6 separate regions of the Homo sapiens genome follow, and all the other regions are linked to region 3. The links are contacts of gene promoters, found by promoter capture Hi-C in blood cells and fetal thymus (Javierre and others, 2016). All regions are on one chromosome and are shown on one strand. Each heading gives the region's core, a stretch centred on a gene start or on the middle of the fragment in contact. The rest is flanking DNA. Distances are from core to core; before and after follow the strand shown.

Region 1 (3,025 bases), core at 351-2,850, 350 kb after region 3:
TATAACGTTACATATTATATAATATATAATATATATTAGCTAATATTACATGTATACGTATTATATATATTTTCAGAAGCCAATTTAGTGAATTCTGCATGTCATTTTCCAGAACTATCTTATCCACAGACGTGCACACAGAGACAAACACAGCCACACACACACACCCATTGCACCAACATGGTTTTACAACTTACTTTTTCTCTCCTAATACACCTAGGAACTCAATCCAATCCATTTCGACCCATACAAATCGGCAGCATCGCATTTCATGTCCAAAGAGTGTTCAATCAATTGCACAATCATTTACTTTACCATTTCTCATATTTATGGACATTTGAAGGCTTTCGGGTTTTTGCTATTAACTAATTACTAAACAATACTCCAGTGAATATCTTTGCACATCCCTCTTTGCACATTTCATGCGGGTGTACCTGTAGGATATATTCCTGGGCAAGGAATAACTGGATATGTGCATTTATAATTTTGAAAGTTATTGGCAAACTGTTCTGTCTTTAATTTGTAGCAATGTAAGGGTATACTACTTCTGTACATTTATAAAAGCTTTATTAATAACCTTTTGACCTTTGACATTTTGATAGATAAAAACAGAGACTTATTTTTATTTGTTTCTTATAACAAGGCTAACTTTGAAAACCTCAGATATTTACTTTCTTATTTTCTGGAGTTCTTGACTTTTTTTTCCCATTTAATTGGATCCTATTTGATTTTCTATTGCTTTTTTCTATTTGATTTGATTCTCATTCATAAACTCTTTATAAAAATTAACCCTTTGTTGGATCACATGTCTTATAATACCGTTGTTAATTATTTTTGTCTTTAGCTTTGTTATAGTGTTGATAGGGTTTGGCTGTGTCCCCACCCAAATCTCATCTTGAATTGCAGCTCCCATAATTCCCACGTGTTGTGGGAGGGACCCAGTGGGAGTTAATTGAATCATGGGGGCGGTTTCACCCATACTTTTCTTGTGGTAGTGAATAAGTCTCACGAGATCTGATGGTTTTATAAGGGGAAACCTCTTTCACTTGATTCTCATTTTCTCTCTTGCCCCTGCCATGTAAGAAGTGCCTTTCACCTTCCATCATGATTGTGAGGCCTTCCCAGCTACATGGAACTGTGAGTACATTAAACCTCTTTTCCTTCATAAATTACCCATTCTCGGGTATGTCTTTATCAGCAGCATGAAAATGGACTAATACAGGTGGTTTTTGTGAAGCACACATTTTTATTCAATAAAATTACTAATATTTTTCTCTCATGACTCTTGGGTTTTGCCTCTTATTTTAAAACTCCTAACAAAATGATACAATTTACTATTACATACCTGTTGGAGTTTTTATGTTAATACTTATGAACTACTTGGGAAATACTTTAATGTAAGAAGGTAGGGATTTATGTTTTCCAAAGGGCTACCTTGTTGTTCCCCAACCATTTACTGAATAATCCATCATTTATCCAGTGACTTGAAATGCCTTATTTATTATATATTATATATAAGACTCACACATGCATTAGGTCATATTTATAGAATATTTATTTTGTTTTGTTTATGCATCTGTAATTAAGCATCATACCATAATTTAAAAATAACTATATCTTTATAGTATATTTGAATAACTGGTAGGATTTGTACCTTAATACTCTTCAAAATATTTTCAGTTATTCTTACGTGTTTACTTTCTATAAAAAAAGTTTAGAAGAAACTAGTCTAGCTATTAAAAACCCTTCTTTTGACATTTTTACTGGGATGATACTAAATTATAGATTATTTTAAAGAGATCTGATCTTTTTACAATATCAAGTTTTTCTTTGCAAATTATATCTTTCAATTTATTCAAATCTTCCTTGGGTAGCTGGAGAGGAGAGAAAAGAATATGTAAAGAAAGTAGGATGAGAAGATGAAAGAGCTGTGAAAGAAATTCCCTGGGAACTCTGGACAGATCTATTTTTTGGAGTCAAAGAAAGAGTAGACAACAGCGGGGATGAGGCTTCTGGGAAGAGTCAGGTTATTGAAGACTTTTGAATGCCAGGCTAAAGAACATGGATCTCATTCAAGCAGGTGAAAGGCTTGCTTTAGGAAGTTTCTTAAGAGCTGCAGTTTGATTCTCAACTAGGAGCAATTTCGTCCCTGAAGGTATATCAACTTCTGGAGACATTTTGGTCAGCAGAGGGGGAGGTGTTCCTGGTATTTGGTGGACATTGGCCAGGGGTGCTGCTCAACACCCTACAAGGCACAGGGCAGCGCCCACAACAAAGAATTATCCAGTCCCAAATATCCATAGCATGGAGGTGCATAGTCCCTCTACTGGAGAGACTGAAGGGCAAAGAGACTACCATCAAGGAAACAATTTAAGCGGCCATGCAGGCCCTGTGGGCTCTGAACATGCCCCCACGTCGGTCATTCCAGTTAGCATCTCCCCTCCCAGCATCTGTGGTGCAAAAGCAGAAAAGAGCCAGTGAAGCCCGGGAGGTCCTGAGTTGGCTCCCAAACTCACTTCCTCCAGAGGAATTCTTCCTTAGCGGTTTATACACTTCCTGTTTATTCACATGCAAACAAACACATAGGAAAACCTCAGTCCCTCCATTCAGAACATGTTCTGAGGAATTCAGCCTGCAAAGCTTTCTTCAAAAATGAAAGCTTCTTTGTGTAAATGCTCAGAATTCATAAGCAACTAAATGAGGGACAGCGGGAACGAGGGAGGGTGGGAACAGGAGAGAAACCACATGGGGCTGACTTTAGAGTAGCCATAATTCAAGAGAACATGGGCGGCTTTTCTGCTCTTGAGAGAAATAAACAGCATTTCTTCCCAAGGAGTCACATCCCTGAAAGCATTCTATCTCCCCACTCCTCAAAGTGATCATGGCTCCTGGGCCTCTAACGCAACACTCGGCTTCATGTATGCAAATGGTAGGCACTCAATAAACAAAGTGAGTGACTACATAGTAAAGGAAAAATAAATGCATCACTATTTTGTTATAGAGAAAGTAACTTAACAATGAGTTG
Region 2 (3,237 bases), core at 415-2,914, 290 kb before region 3:
GGAGATCGAGGCTACAGTAAGCTGTGTGTGCACCACTGCACTGCAGCCTGGGTGACAGAGCAACACCCTGTCTCAAAAAAAGAAAGAGAAAGAAAAGAAAAAAGAAATAGCCCTCTGGATGGGGCAAGGAGGAGACCATCCACAGGTAGTCTTATCAATAAGTTTCAGGGGTGTAAGACAGCCTGGGATAGATTTGAAAAATGATAAGGGATGAAGGGGCAGCAGTGAGTTGAGTGTTTTTCCTTCAATTCCTTGAAAATGTCAAGTTTATTCCCACTTCAGAACCTCTGCCCTTTCTTTCTGCTCTGTCTGGGACACTTCCCCAGGTCTGGCACGGCTACATCCTTCCTACCATGTAGGTCTCCGCCCTGAAGCCACCTCCTCAATGAGGCTTTACCTACTCTCAGTCTCTGAAGCCCCCCACCATCCCACAGACACTCTCTGTTACCTTTTCACACGACCCCATTCTGGGTTTTTCATCGCACATTATCTGAATGTGTTTACTGCTTATCTATGCGTTACTCTTCCTGCCATGGGAAGGTACACTCTGTGAAACCAGAACTTGGTGTCTGCAACCCTAATGAATATTTGCTTCACAGAAGGAGAAAGGGAGGGAGGGAAGAAGAAAGGGAAGGTGCTTGGCTAAAAAGGGAATAAATGCAATAGGGTAGAAATCAGAGGAATTACCGAGTTGACAGAATGTTTTTTAAAAATATTGGAAAAAGCAACATACTTCCTTCATATGCTGATAAAAAGGAACAAATAGAAATGGATAATACAGATGCAGGGACGGAGTGAGAAGGTGAGAGGTGGATGGGACCTACAACCCCGCAAAGTACTTGGTATCAGACAAAGAAGGGTTACCTAGTTCCCACAATGGGGATGGAGCAGAAGGCTAGGGATACAAATAGAGAAAGCTTGGGGCAAGGAACCACAGGAGCTCATGGCGCTAAGTCGTTAATTTCTTGGTGAAACAGAATGAGGGAATTAAAAGTAGAATAATGGGTTTATGAGGAGTGCTGGAGGCTGGGATGGGACAGTGAGCACGGAGATGAGTAAGGATGTGGGAAACAACGCAGAGGTGCAGGCAGCGAGGCCAGAGAGCATGAATTTGCACTGACATCAGCACGCGCATTCAGTGACTTCTCTCCAGCAGCGTGAGGAACACAGGCAACAGAGGAAACAAGACGGTGACTCACTGAGCTTGGACTGGACTCTGCAGACAGGTGTGAGGGCAAGGAAGGCAGGCACTGGGAAGCGAGTGGCGGAAGTGTTAACAGGTAGCTGGGCATGAGCGGGGCAGGAGAGGGCTCTACCCTAGAAATGTAAGGGGATGATTCGGCAATCATCTCATTGCCTCTCTAAAAATGAAAATTTGGCAGTGCCACAGAGAGGCCACTTCCTGATGATCCACACCCGTTAACATCAAAATGCTAACTGAACGCAGGCCCTAAGGAGAAGCAATGTCCTGGGAACATGTGTTAAGAGACAAAAATGCGCTGGACGTGGTGGTTCACGCCTATAATCCCAACACTTTCGGAGGCTGAGGTGGGCGGATCACCTGAGGTCAGGAGTTCCAGACTAGCCTGGCCAATGTGGTGAAACCCCGTTTCTACTAAAAATACAAAAATTAGCTGGGCGTGGTGGTGGGTACCCATCATCCCAGCTACTTGGGAGGCTGAGGCACGAGAGTCGCTTGAACCTGGGAGGTGGAGGTTTCAGTGAGCCAAGATCACACCACTGCACTCCAGCCTGAGCAACAGAGCAAGACTCTGTCTCAAAACAAAACAACAAAACAAAAGGAGAGAGAGGGGAGAGAGAGAGAAAAAAAAAGGTGAAGTATGATCTTGGGGCACACTCCACCGGAAAAGGGAAGAAAGCCTCCAATGGGCATGCGTATCACTCACTAAACGCACTGCGCTTGCTCAATGCCAAAGGGTAAGGAGAACACTGCGCATGCGGAAAGCCTACCCTAAGGGGTGAATCATGGGGAAGAGGCGAGCCTATAAAATCCCAGGATCAAGTTTAAAGGTCTCCCTCCCTCCTTTTCTTTTTTTTCATTCCTGTCTTCTTTTGCTCTCTTTTCTCTCTTGGACCCTCAGGTACCCACTTGGGTCTCTTTCAAGTGAATGTTCCTTTCGTTCCTGTTCTAAAGCCTTTTAAAATGAACTTCCATTCCTGTTCTGAAACTTGCCTTAGTCTGTTTTTCTGCTTCATGCCCCTCAGTCGAATTCTTTCTTCTGAGGCGGCAAGGACTGAAGTTGCTGTGGACCTGTAGGGGTTCGACGCCGGTAACTCAGGGTAACTCCTATCTCTTCCACCGGTAACAGAGGGGTTACATTATGGGGTCCAGGTTGAGAGAGGAGCAGAGGAGCCTAAGGAAAGGTAGAGTACAAGGACAGGAAAGGGTGAAAGCTTAGATGCAGTGAGAGTAAACAACAAGGCTGAAGTGAGAAAACTCAACGGAAGAGATGGGGAAGAAACAGATTCTGAGGATGTTTAAGTCTAACTTGCTCCAGGTGATCAACAGCCCCAGAATGAAGCTGTCCTGGAAACTGGGCCTCTGCACTTTTCTCCCTCAATGCTGTCTCTAGAGCTGGCTGGACCCAGATATCAGGCTGCTCAAAACAACTCCACAGATCTCTTTTTCACCTTCACTTCCTATTGTTGAAGAACTGTGGGTTTCTAATGAAGAAATGGCAGATCCATCTATTCCCATCATCTTACCTTAAGACACCAAGGGTTAGAAATTACACTTGCAGGATGCCTACTTGGACTCAATGGAGTTTAAGAGGCCAGTCAGCAAGGGTAGAGGCAAAGATATTAGGGAGTTCTACAAAGATTCCAGAACAAACAACATGCAAGGAGGGGAAGTCACAGCTGCCATTATTAGGGCCAGTTTCCAAACAGCTGTAGGACTTCCTCTGCAAACACATTCGAATGTATATCCAGGATGTCGTGGGAAAGCACAAAACTTAAGATACAGGCAGAAGCAATAAGCAGGAACCAAAAGGTCAAAGACCAAGGAATGTGTGACCAAGCTATTGTCTTTGGCCAACCATTGACCTCGTCCATATGCAACTTACCACCAAAGTAGAGGATGTGCAGTCTAACTGAAATTTCCATCACTCTGACTCACGTCCATTTTTCAAACCCTGTTCACAAATATTATCTTGATTTTGAAGTATCTTTCAAAGAGGTAAGCCATTTACTCATTTTGAAAAAGTTAAAGTAACC
Region 3 (2,700 bases), core at 201-2,700:
TATTTTGATATTGTATTATGTGGAGTACATATGGTGTGGCAGCTCAAGGCAGACGAATTATTAAATATGTACGGTGATCTTACAATGGGTATGGCCCGTCTCTTGCTTTCTAGGAATTGACCATCTTCCGGCAGCCCAACACCTAGTCCCCTGTGTATTATGCACTATTACAAAACGTGTTCAAGTCGCCTTTTATGCCTAAGGCTTACATAAAAATTCATCTTGCCTTTCTGCGTCTATTTCCAAGTTTGAAGGACCTTTCTCCCTCCAATTAGCAACATTTCAGCACTGCACAGGGCTTATTAATGCTCACTGTTGCAAGTAACACCAAGGTAATTTGACTTTCTTGTAGGAACAATGTCGACGAAATCCTACAGAATTAAATTTAAATTTCCAGTTTAAAAAAAAAAACCGTGAAAGAACACTTCATTACCTTTATTATCTAGACGTATCTAATGACGTTAAGTAAAAACTGCACCAAGGCTTTGAAACCAGAAGAAAAGTGGAGTTTGTGAAATTTAACCACTCCATGCTTTTTATTAGTATTTCACTTATGAGTATTTCCCGAGGCTCACTGTTTTGGCAGGCACAGTGCTGTTAACATCTCTTCCTTTCTCACCATTCTTTGCTCATCGATGAAAAGATAACTTCAAAATCTCTGACAGGAATGCAGGTGCAGGAAGTGCGACGGAAACAAACAACTTTGCCTCCGCTTCCTACAGCTTTCCTCTCCTCCCCGCCCTTCTAGCCCCCATCCCACCCCAAGATCATGCCCTCGAACAGCTTCTGCCCACCGATCGCACGTCCCCTGGGCATGTTCGGGCAGCGGTGACCCTCAGCCACATCCCCCACTAGCCCGGTCCCGGGCAGGCGAGCGCGCTGCCCACCGGCCACCCTCGTCACGCCCCCTCCACCCTCTCCATCCCAGCCACAATAATACAATAACCGCAGTCATCGCGCGGCACGTGGAAAGGCTACTTTTCAGTGGGTTTTGCAGAAAGCAATCAGACAGCGGAAGGCCACGAGAAACGCTGGTGAAGCCAAACCGACCCCGGGAGCGCAGCGGCCCCGGACCCTCCCTGGAAGCTCCCTCCGCGTCCCCGCGCGCCCACCTGGAGGCGCCGCGCCCTCCGCCTGCCAAGCCGGTCCCCGGCCCCTGCCCGTGCCCTGGGCCCCCGGCGGGCAGCGGCGGAGGGAGGCCAGGCGCGGCACCGTCCTCCGCAGCTGCACGAGCCACCCCGAGGTCGCGGGGTGGGCGGGCGCGAGCTAGGCGCGCGGGGCTGTGGGGATCTGCCGGCGCCACTGACGCCCCCGCGCGGCACACCGCGCCCGGCTGGCCCGGGAGGGGACCCGACTCACCCGAAGCGCCCTGCTAGCTGCCCGGCCCGGCTCCGGCCGCTGCCGCCGTCGCTGAACTTTCCCTCCTGCGCGGCCGCCGCGGACTCGGCTCCACCTCCCGCTCCGGCAGCCGCGGAGCCTCCAGGGACCCCGGGGGCGGGGAGCAGCGGCGGCGGCGGCGGCTCGGGCGGGCGGGCGCAACAGCGGCCAAGCCTGGCGCCCCGCCGCAGGGTAGGTCCGGCGGGGGCGGCCAAGGCCGGGCTGGGGTCGCGGTTGGCCGCGTACCTCCGCGTCACCCACGGCCTCTCTGCAGTGCGTCCCTGCGCCCGTCGGAGCGGCGCCCTGGCCGAAGCCTGTCACTCTCGGAAGGGGCCGCGCTCGGACACCAGGGGCGGTTTACGCGTGACTGGACACCAAGAGCCGGAGAAGTTTAGAGACTAGGACACTGTGGCGTGGCCCGAGTTGCAGGAGAGAGGTGTCCAATCTCCATGGGGTCCTTACTCTTGCAGGACAGAGTTCCCCATCCCCCTGCTCCACCCGCTCTGTTCCCTTGGCTGCCCTCCCCGCCGAGCGCCGACTTCCATGCAAAAACTTTGTAAATCGCACTTCGGGGAATTCACGCTTTAGTCGCGGTCTCTGCTGCCCTGGTCAGCTATAACGCCTCCCCTAGAGAGCTTTTACTTACAGCGAAGGTCAGGAACCCCTGTAACTCTCACACCGCACCACTGTGGGTAAGCGATGTCTGCAGGGACCCCTGACGGCCACTGGGAGGCCAGGAGAGAAGAGGGAGAGGAAAGGCTAAAAAGGCAAGTGGAGTGTTGGGTAATAAAAGATCCACCGCCACCTCCAGCACACACAGGCAGGCACCCTCCAGGGCCACAGGTCGCCTTTTATCTGTAAGTGCTCCAGCGCATCTCTGTGGGAGAGGGAGTTGGGAAATAGGATCGCCAATTTTCAGTGTAATTGAGGGGGACTCAGGAGGAGTCAGTTAGACTGGAAGAGGTCATCACCTGCAGATGCGGTTAAGCAACTTGCAGAGGCCCCAGGGCTGAGCCACCGCAGAACCGGAGCTGGAAACCAGTCCTATGACTCCTGAGGCAGTGCTCTTTCTACTACCTGGCCATGGCTCCTTCTACTGCCTGGCTCAGAGTCTCCATCTGGGAGATTCCGGCGCACCAGACTTTATTGTGGGCACAGGGTAGGCAGTCCTGAGGCTATAGGCACAGTCTTGAAGCAGCTCGGTTTCCATTAAGCTCCTGCTTACCTGCAGGAAGCATCCCTGAAGCAAGTTTTGCTTCCCACCTGGACTCCCCAGGTGGACCTATCCCCACCCCACACCCTGAGTGAACTCTTCACCCTCGT
Region 4 (2,987 bases), core at 108-2,607, 370 kb after region 3:
TTAGTAGAGACGGAGTTTCACCATGTCGGTCAGGCTGGTCTTGAACTTCTGACCTCGGGTGATCCACCTGCCTCAGCCTCCCAAAGTGTTGGGATTTCAGGTGTGAGCTACCGCACCCGGCCAAAAGAGTTTATTGACTGGGGCAGGACGATGGAAGTAAGAATGCAGGTCAGAGTCAAATAACAGCCTTACCTCTTTTACTTAGATATCCAGATGTTCTTTTTAGCAAATTAAATTTTCTAATTTGCTTTTACTCAGTACATTGATATGCTTAGTATAAATGCACTAACTGTGCTACTTTTAAACGCATCCAACACACATCATTTTAAAGTGTTTTATGAGAAATTCTGAACCTCCAGTAGACAACGACCCTTCTCCTACAAACTACAGTTATTCCAAGGGCATTTCACTCTGTCTTCCACATGCAAGAGCTTGTAGCAGGAAAAAAATAAAATGAGAAAGAGAGAGAAAGAAAAGAGAAAAGAGAGAGAAGGAAGGGAGGGAGGGAGGAAGGGAGAGGAGGGGAGGGGAGGAGAGGGGAGGGAGGAAGGGAGGGAAAAGAGGGATGGAGGGAGGGAGAGAGGGAGGGAGGGAAGGAAGGGAGGAAGTAAAATATGTATGTATATACTTTTATTTATGTCTATGTCTAGATGGGTCAGCACAAATATTGAATTCACACTATATGCTGTGGCCTGCAACAGATACTGAGGATGCCAGCATGGATATGAGACCCAGTAATTAGCCTGGAAGAGCAGAGAATGTACTGAGGGATGATTTGTAACAATACAACTGCTATGTTATGTTCTCCTGCTATAACAGAGGCAAGAGCTCAGTGTTCTGGGGATGCAGGCGAGGAATTGTGTGGCCTGGATAAATCTAGGAAGACTTCATGGAAGATGACGCATTTAAGCTAGATCTTGAAGAAAGATAGCAAGCTTTCTGTCTAGTGTAAGGGAAACTCATTTCAGTCTGCAGAAACAGTGTAAGCTGGGGTGTGGAGGATGAGAGATGAGGGCAGCTGGTCCAGGCAGACAACAGAACCAGTGAGAGCAGCGGTTGCTGCTACTGTATCACCCCCCTTGGCAGTAGTATGGCCCTGACTGCTGAGAGGCAGGCCAGCTCAGGGGCGTCTCGACTCCCCAAACCAGTGCTGAACATTCCCTGATCAACCTGGCTACCAAACCTTCTTCTGAAAATGAGAAGTAGCTTGTTAACTATCAGAGCTTTCTCACATAAGAATGGGCTTCAGGAGAGGTAGTGAGGTCCCTGTGGGAGGAGGTATGTAAGTAAAAGTGATAGGATAGGCCCTTTTTTCCAGGCTGTGGTAGAAGGGAGGTTTGGGACCAAAGAAGGTTGGCCTAACATACCCCGCTCAGTTTTCTTCCAGAGCTAAGAGGCCATGATTCCCTTTGAAAGTAGAATTTCCTGTTCTTCTATGAGGAATGGAAAAACATGTCTAGAGAGGTTAAGTGACTTGCCCCAGGCTACAAAGAAAGCTATCCGAATCATTGTCCAAACATTTCACTTGCTACAATCTGATCTCAAGTGGACTTTTAGACAGGTGAGAACAGATGCTGGCTCTTCTATCTCGGCAACCTCTTTACCAATTCTGCAAGCATCAGACAGCAGCTGGATCATACATACATATGCCTCACGTACGCAGCTTCAGCTCTGCCAAGCAGGGCCATGCCCAAATGTGAGCATAATATGTTTATGTGGACCTTGAGCAAGACACTGTGAGTTGAGTCCTGACTTCACAACTGCAAGCAGGAGGTCACAGAAGCTTTGCAGATAAAATGTTAATCTCATACCTTGGCCCATATCAACACATGCTAATCAGATGGGTCAGGCTGTGCCGTTTCCCTCTGCAAGCGGGACTTGTTGTGACTAATTGAGGGGTTTGTAGTGAACATGTCCCTTTACCTCCTGCAGTCCTGGCATCCTAAAGCAAACCTTGGATCTATCAACACCAGTGATACCGAGAAGCCGATATTCTCTTCACTCTGTTCTCCTTCCCAGCAGCCATCACGCCTCTGGGCTACAATCCTGCCTCCAGAAGTCCCAGCTCAATTCACAAAGATGTTCTGGGAAGGAAGTCAATCTTCCCAAAGTTCTTGAGAGCCTGGGACATGCCATTTGCGCAGAACTCTAGAGTATGCAACGTGGCTTCACACACATCACTCCATTCGGACCCAGGGCTCTGGTACAGGTGTCATCCAAACCTTCTACTGCACACACGTAGCAAAGCGAGGCCCAGGGGTGATGCCCTCTTGAAGTCACAGAGAGAATAAGTGGAGCAGCAAGAAATCGCAGCTCAGTTTTCTGACCCTGAAGCCTGGGTTCTCTTCTGCATATACCAGATGGCCTGGTGAGCAAGGGTTGGGTATTCCTTGGCAAGGGGTGAGCAGGGCTGGGATCCAGGGTGAGTTGAAGTGGGCTGAGGACTTTCCAGGACTCATAGCTCCAGCCGGAATGTGAACAGGCCACACGCACCGAAATCAGTCTTTAGAGCTCGCTGTGGCCACAAGTGGGTGCTGGGCTGAGGTGGTGGCTTGTGGTTGTGAGTGTTGAAGATCATAGTTCAACGCAGGCCGGGTCCCATACAGGCAGGAGGACCAGGCACTAACTGGCCTGCTCTGCCGTCGATCTGGTACCTGTGTGTCTGCCTGACAGACACAGCTCAGAGGCCACCAGGGCTGAGCCGTGGCCCCAGGGCCACCCTCTGTGAGGCTGTCAGGAAGACAGAAAGAGCCACAGGGCAGCTACAGGGACAATGAGTGGCTTGCTGGTGAGGGACAGTAGGAGGCTGAAACCAAGGGAATGGACAAGAGCTTACAACCCCAAAAACTGATGGTGCCTTGTAGCAGACAGACACTGAGAACCCATGGCTGGGGCTCTGAAAGGGGAGGAAGCCTGCCAGGATTACCACTGGGTCCCACATGGGCCTCCCTGCTCCCCATTCATCCTGTGTGACAGCCATGCCAGTC
Region 5 (2,799 bases), core at 8-2,507, 270 kb before region 3:
GGTACCAAGAAAAGCAAAATTCTGCTCCAAGCTCAGAAAATGACCAATTGCCTTCATAGACTAATTACCACATGGGCCAGCTGCCTTCCTGGACCATCTGTTCTTTTGATGGCCCCCAAATATTTCTAACTCTGGGATTCGAGTATAACAGCCAGCAACATTCAGAAGCCAATCCTGATCAATAGCCCTGCTCTTCCCCCGACTTCCCAGCTCCTCTTTAAATAGCGCATGGAACATCACTAATTTAGGCATTCTAAAAATACAGCACATAATACAGACCAAGCTACAGATGGAAGGCTGCACACGAGAAGCTGCTTCTGCGACTCACACTGGTTTTCACAGACTGACTGCAAAACAGTATTTTGGGAAAGAGAGGAAAAGAGAGAGACAGGTTTAAAAAAACAAAAGGCACTTTTGACAGTAGGGTCTTTCATCAAGGGAAGGAAGAAGAGGTGTTTTGTTCTTTTTCCTCTTGTCCTTGAAAACTCCTATTCATCTCCTGGGAGTACTGGGAAGGGGAAAAAAGAAAGCATCATAAGATGCCACCAGGAAAGGGACTCTGACGGAGAACACCAGAACCTCTGGTTCCACCAAACTCTTGCTTAGAGGCCAGGAGCATGCGAAACCACCTTTTCTGCAGAGCCAACTGATAAATCCACACCAGCTTAGTGCTATATGCTGATTGGTTCTCTCCAGCTTGGACACCTGTAGTCTCCATCACAATGCAGGAGAAGTGGAGCCCAGGACACAATGAGGCTTTGCTGTAACTTCTTCCACAGGGCCCATCATCTCCTTCCCCAAAAAACCCTCACCTTTACAGGCTGCCTGCTCCAGCCTTGGTATTTAGGGTAAAGACTGATTGAGACCTAGAAGTTACCTGTAATTTTATTTTTCTCTTTCTGGATTCTCCAGGTGATTCCCAGGCAGCAGGAAGGAAGTCCCCTGAAACTACCACCTCGAAACCTGGGACTGTTTCAATTACCCTATTCTGTCACGTTTAGAATCAAATGCTAATTTATTTTCTAGTCATGTCAACATGATTCAAGCACTGCCATATCTTATTGCAAAGTATAACAGCAACAGAATTTCCAAAGAAAGTATCTGGAAAACACAGCATCACTCATAATTCTACCACTCAGGAAAAAAAAAAAAACCAATGCTTTGCTACAGTGTTTTCATCCCCTCGATCTTTTTTCTTTACATAGCTAGATAAAAACTTTATAATTATTTTCACAATTAAAATGATAGCCTTTGTCCTATGTTAATATTTACTGAATAAATGATTTTTGTTTACCGTACAATATTCTACTATAACGATACCGCAAAATTTTACCAGTCTCCTATTGTTAGACAACTAATTGCTTCTCATTTTTCATTATTATAAATACTTCTATGATATAAATATTCATGGACATTTCTGAGAATCAGCTTTCAGAAAGGAAAATACTGGAAAAAGCTATGAATATTTTGAACGTTCTTGATACAAATTACTTTACAGAATGATAGAAACAGTTTATGCTCTTAATACTAAATATAAATTTTCATTTCACCTGCTCCTAACAATATGTGTCATCATTTATAAAATTGTGAAAATTCGTATTTTACATTTGTTTTAAACTTTATTAGGTAAGAAAAAGTAAACAGTTTTTTATTTGTATATCAGATATCTGTATCTCTTTTGTGATCCGTTCATCTTTTGCTCATGTATCTTTCATGATGTTTGCTTGGGTTTAAGTTTCAGCAAGAATTTATGTCATGCTCATATGCATCTTGAACCAAACAAAGCAAGGTCTTTTCACATTTCACTCTTAGCATTTCATGTGTGTTTCGATGTTGTGCAGTAATTTGCAAACGACACAACTGATTTCTAATAAATTCGGTACATAATTCAAGGGTACTAAGACATACATTTACATTCCACACACTTTACATGAGTCCACAGAATTAGCAATTTTTCAAGCATTGCAGTGCAAATTAGTATGTGGGTAGAGGTTACAGAGATTAATGATTTCTTTAGACATGGATGGAAGGCCAAAGTACACTCTGTGCTATTAATAAGCTCTATTTATTGACCATAAACATATTCATAACTTAAGTAGGTTCAGCCATGAACTTGAAAATGAAAAATGTGTTTACAATGCCACTCATGGGAACATTGGTAACTAGTGAGAATCCTTTGGAAAATGTCTATAAATTTACAGGATTTAAGTAACAAAATGCTAACTATATGCGAGAAGGCTCTTCTTTTCAGAGAAGCACGTATCTAAGGTCAACAGCACACAGCCCTCACAATGAGATCAACCAGCATACTGCTAGGCTATGCCTGGGACATAGTAGACATTTGGTTGAAGCCCTCACGATGAAATCAACCAGCATACTGCTGGGCTATGCCTGGGATGTAGTAGACATTTGGTGAATGTTTGTTGAGTAATTATCCCAGGATGGTAAATTTCATCTACCTCTTCAGTTTCCTGCACGCTACTCCTGATCTCCTGATTCAGAAGGCATTTTTCTGCATTTTTACTAATGTCTAGTATGAACTTCAAACATCAATTCACGTCCTCTTAAACTCTGTGCCATCTACCCTGCTGGAGCTAGCCTGCCAACCTGGGCCAAGCCTCACCTGTGTCATGTCCGATGCCCCAGTCTGACTTAGATTTTGCCCTAAAGGCTTTCAGGATAAGGGCATGTTCCATTCAACACCAGCTGGAAGCCCAGCCATGCTCTGGTCTTGCTGGTCCACGCCACTGGCCCGTAGCCACCAGCCTAGCAATGGCATAATGCTGCCAGTTATTAGGC
Region 6 (3,120 bases), core at 90-2,589, 390 kb after region 3:
CCCTGGGGTTTTTGTACTTTTAAAAACGTGACCTGCTGACCAACATGGATAAACCCCATCTCTACTAAAAATACAAAAAATTAGCCAGACATGGTGGTACATGCCTGTAATCCCAGCTACTTGGGATGCCAAGGCAGGAGAATCTCTTGAACCCGGGAGGCAGAGGTTGTGGTGAGCCGAGATCACACTATTACACTCCACCCTGGGCAACAAGAGTGAAACTCCATCAAAAAAAAAAAAAAAAAGTGACCTGGTAAGGATAATGTTGCACTAGAGTGAATGAGTGGATGAACGGATGTGCCAATGGAATTCTGCCCACTTATGAGGGAGTTAACTTGGTAACTCACATCTTGCTAGTAACTAGCAAGCTAAGAACAGTAACTACAGGATGTCTTTGATGGTCCTCTGCCCCCATTTCCCTTCTCTACTGAAGACCCTTCCTGATAGCCCCAGAAAGAGGGAAGTGGTTACTTAGAGAAGGGAAATTAAGGAAGTGCACAAAAGAAATATGAAGATGAAAGGGGATTGGGAAACATGGCAAAGCAGAGAGAGTATCAACAGAGCAATAGAGGGAGGAAATAACAGCCCAGGATGAAAGGGAATGAGAGAGATGATGGAAAGAAACAGAAGTGAATTTCTCTTTTAACAGTCGGTGCTCCTTACAAGCTTCTCTTCCTTTGCCGGGGGGCTCCGCAGGTAGTAGCAGAGTGGAGCATAGACGATGTTGATGACCCCAGTGATGACCATGAGCCAGGGAAAACCGATGGCCTTTACAATGGCACCACCGGTGGATGGACCTGGGAGGGATACATCAAAGTCATAAGTGTCTATGGAGCCTCCATATGGAGCATCCTCCACGTAGGACACTATGCTAGGGGCAGTGGGTGACCCAGAGGATGTCTCAGCGTCAAAGATCTCCAGAACCCTAGGAGGATAGCTTCCTGGCTGCACTTCCAGCTGGTAAAGAGTAGACAGGGGAAAGTGGGGCACCAGGTCCTGCCAACATACCTATAGCAAAGCCCATGCAAAAAGCCACATCAGCGATGGCGTAGACACTCCCATACACCGAGGTGTGGCGTAGATCCACCAGGTGCCCCATGATGGGCATCATAGAAGAATCCACCATGCCTGTGGCCAGAGCAAACAGGACACAGTCAGCCCCACCCACAGTTAGTACCACCCCGCCTCTCCTCCTCCATTTAGTCCATTTGCTTTGTCTGCTGTCTTCTGCCTCGGACTAACACCTGTTCCAGGTGGGAATTACGAGCTCATCTCTCCACAACCCTGCCAGCTGCCCTCCTGATCCTTCTGCCTCTGCACCTACCTCCTCTGATGAGAAAAGGGGGAGGAAAGGCATCAGACCCAAAGCCAACATGCAGGGGCTTATTGTTTTCTTTGAGGGCACTTCTTACCTATGGCAAGGCCAAGCCCTGCATTGGGGCCAATGAGACCAAAAATATTGTGAGCCAGAGGAACCTGCATGGGGAAGGAGGAAGAGTCATCAGGACTCCAGATGGGTCAGGTGGGAGCAAGGTTCAAAGAGTTTTCACATGAAATGCATTTATTCAGAGTGCACTATTGGCCACATACATCATCCTCCTGCACTCTCAGACTTTCTCATGGAAAAGAATCTATACCTCCATTTTAAGGATATGAAAACTTGACCAGCGCTGTTGTGTTTATTTATTGCTCTATCCAGAGTTACAGATCTAATGAGTGGCAAGATCAAGTTTGGACCTCAGACTTGGCTCCATTATGCTCTAACGAGGGTCTTCCTCTGTTCCATGGATACTTTCTCCCCTTCCTCTACCCCTCTTCACCTAAACATACACTCCTGGTCTCATTCTTCATGGAATAAAGTTGCCTCTGTTTTCCATTATGGACATCACTGAAAGGTTTCATTTAGACTTCTAACTTGGTAGCTGTTGGAAAAAGAAGATAGAGAAGAGGCCCCAACAACCAGTTAGCTGTAAGCTAGAGGGGGCAGGTGGTGTGGCTTGGGTCCCCTGTCAGGAAGCTTGTGAGACTCATTCCCATTGCCCTCCCAATCCCCCAACAAAAACCCCTTCTTCCCTCTTTTTCAGGTTCCTTACCTCCCTCTCTGGGTACCTGCCATTCAAACCTGCTACCCCAGGACACTCACCCCTTAAGGGTTTAGCATACCGTTTAGATGCTGCTGGCTGATAACAATTTTTAGGGTTCATGCCTCAAGAAATGTTTATAAATTATCAATAGTATTGGCTGAGATTCACTATGGGCTCACCATGTGCCAGACACTGTGGTTTATTTGGATTACCTTGACAACCCTGTGGACACCATCAGAACCCTCTCTACATAGATGAGGATGCTGAGCACACGGAGATGAAGTAACCTGCTCAAAGTCACATGCATAGAAAGTGGCAAAACCTGCCATGGAACCCGGATCCCATGCTCCTGCTCAGGACCTCCAGCTGGTCTTGAGCACAGTTTACAGTGCCTTGTAGCCCTGTTCTTCTCTCCCTCAGGCCTAGGAGGTTTGTGTGTTTCTCATCCCCACTGGGGAGAGGAGGAAATGAAGGCTTTGAGAACTTGAGGGGGATTCTTGGAAATGGAAAAGTCCTTCTTTCTTTCTTCTTCTATCAAGCCTCTGGTGCCAGAGACTGGGACATAGATGATGGTTCCCTGGGGATTTATGAGGCTCTGTCAGGGTGGGATGAGTAAATGAAGTCATAAAACGCACCATTTTGCCATCCCCAGAAATGGATACCAACATGTATCACTTCATATGCCCACATGTACAGCCTCAGACCTCCGGCTCCAGCTGCCCTACAGCCCTCTTCCTCTCCTTTCCCACTTCCCCTCAAAGGAAAGCCACTGCAGCTGGTGGCCTCTTCCCCCGTGCTAAATTCCTGCCTATTCAGAAACAGTCTTTCTGACAGTCCTTGCCAAGCCATCTCTGCTCATCTTAAAGGAAATTAGTCTTTAAATGTCTGTGTCTTTCTCTCTCTCTCTCTCCCTCTCTCTCTCTCTCTCTCTCTCTCTCTGTCTGTCTGTCTCTCGCTCTCTCTCTCCTTCCCCTCCCCCAGGTCTTCTTATACTTACACAGAGCAAGCTGGTACCTACTACCAGCATCCCGATTAG

The links. Contacts are between HindIII fragments. The CHiCAGO score rates a contact against its expected background, and 5 or more counts as called.
Region 1: a contact is called between a fragment that was not itself captured here and the fragment with the promoter of CSGALNACT1 in region 3, in 1 of 17 cell types (neutrophils). The highest score is 5.5, in neutrophils.
Region 2: a fragment that was not itself captured here is called in contact with the fragment with the promoter of CSGALNACT1 in region 3 in 11 of 17 cell types (total CD4 T cells, naive CD4 T cells, non-activated CD4 T cells and 8 more); the score reaches 13.2 in total CD4 T cells.
Region 4: a contact is called between a fragment that was not itself captured here and the fragment with the promoter of CSGALNACT1 in region 3, in 9 of 17 cell types (naive B cells, naive CD8 T cells, erythroblasts and 6 more). The highest score is 8.8, in naive B cells.
Region 5: a fragment that was not itself captured here is called in contact with the fragment with the promoter of CSGALNACT1 in region 3 in 10 of 17 cell types (neutrophils, naive CD8 T cells, non-activated CD4 T cells and 7 more); the score reaches 15.4 in neutrophils.
Region 6: a fragment that was not itself captured here is called in contact with the fragment with the promoter of CSGALNACT1 in region 3 in 1 of 17 cell types (neutrophils); the score reaches 6.8 in neutrophils.

What each region holds. Positions count from the first base shown.
Region 1 is chr8:20,100,975-20,103,999 of GRCh38, forward strand. The region is part of intron 1 of LOC105379311 (a long non-coding RNA gene); the gene reads left to right. Among named protein-coding and RNA genes, the nearest start is that of SLC18A1, 81 kb to the right of the region's middle. The HindIII fragment of the contact is 2,076 bases long and covers 563-2,638 here.
Region 2 is chr8:19,469,317-19,472,553 of GRCh38, forward strand. All of the region lies in intron 3 of CSGALNACT1 (chondroitin sulfate N-acetylgalactosaminyltransferase 1), which reads right to left. Among named protein-coding and RNA genes, the nearest start is that of SH2D4A, 160 kb to the left of the region's middle. The HindIII fragment of the contact is 1,498 bases long and covers 916-2,413 here.
Region 3 is chr8:19,755,827-19,758,526 of GRCh38, forward strand. It overlaps CSGALNACT1 (chondroitin sulfate N-acetylgalactosaminyltransferase 1), which reads right to left and starts at 1,451. Exons shown (of 9, transcript NM_001354483.2): 1 at 1,360-1,451. The HindIII fragment of the contact is 8,664 bases long and covers 1-2,700 here.
Region 4 is chr8:20,127,552-20,130,538 of GRCh38, forward strand. LOC105379312 (a long non-coding RNA gene) reads left to right here. Exons shown (of 3, transcript XR_949563.2): 2 at 651-2,368. Among named protein-coding and RNA genes, the nearest start is that of SLC18A1, 54 kb to the right of the region's middle. The HindIII fragment of the contact is 848 bases long and covers 934-1,781 here.
Region 5 is chr8:19,489,946-19,492,744 of GRCh38, forward strand. All of the region lies in intron 3 of CSGALNACT1 (chondroitin sulfate N-acetylgalactosaminyltransferase 1), which reads right to left. Among named protein-coding and RNA genes, the nearest start is that of SH2D4A, 180 kb to the left of the region's middle. The HindIII fragment of the contact is 8,083 bases long and covers 1-2,799 here.
Region 6 is chr8:20,146,595-20,149,714 of GRCh38, forward strand. It overlaps SLC18A1 (solute carrier family 18 member A1), which reads right to left. Exons shown (of 16, transcript NM_003053.4): 12 at 3,082-3,120; 13 at 1,413-1,476; 14 at 1,009-1,128; 15 at 664-797. Among named protein-coding and RNA genes, the nearest start is that of SLC18A1, 35 kb to the right of the region's middle. The HindIII fragment of the contact is 1,351 bases long and covers 665-2,015 here.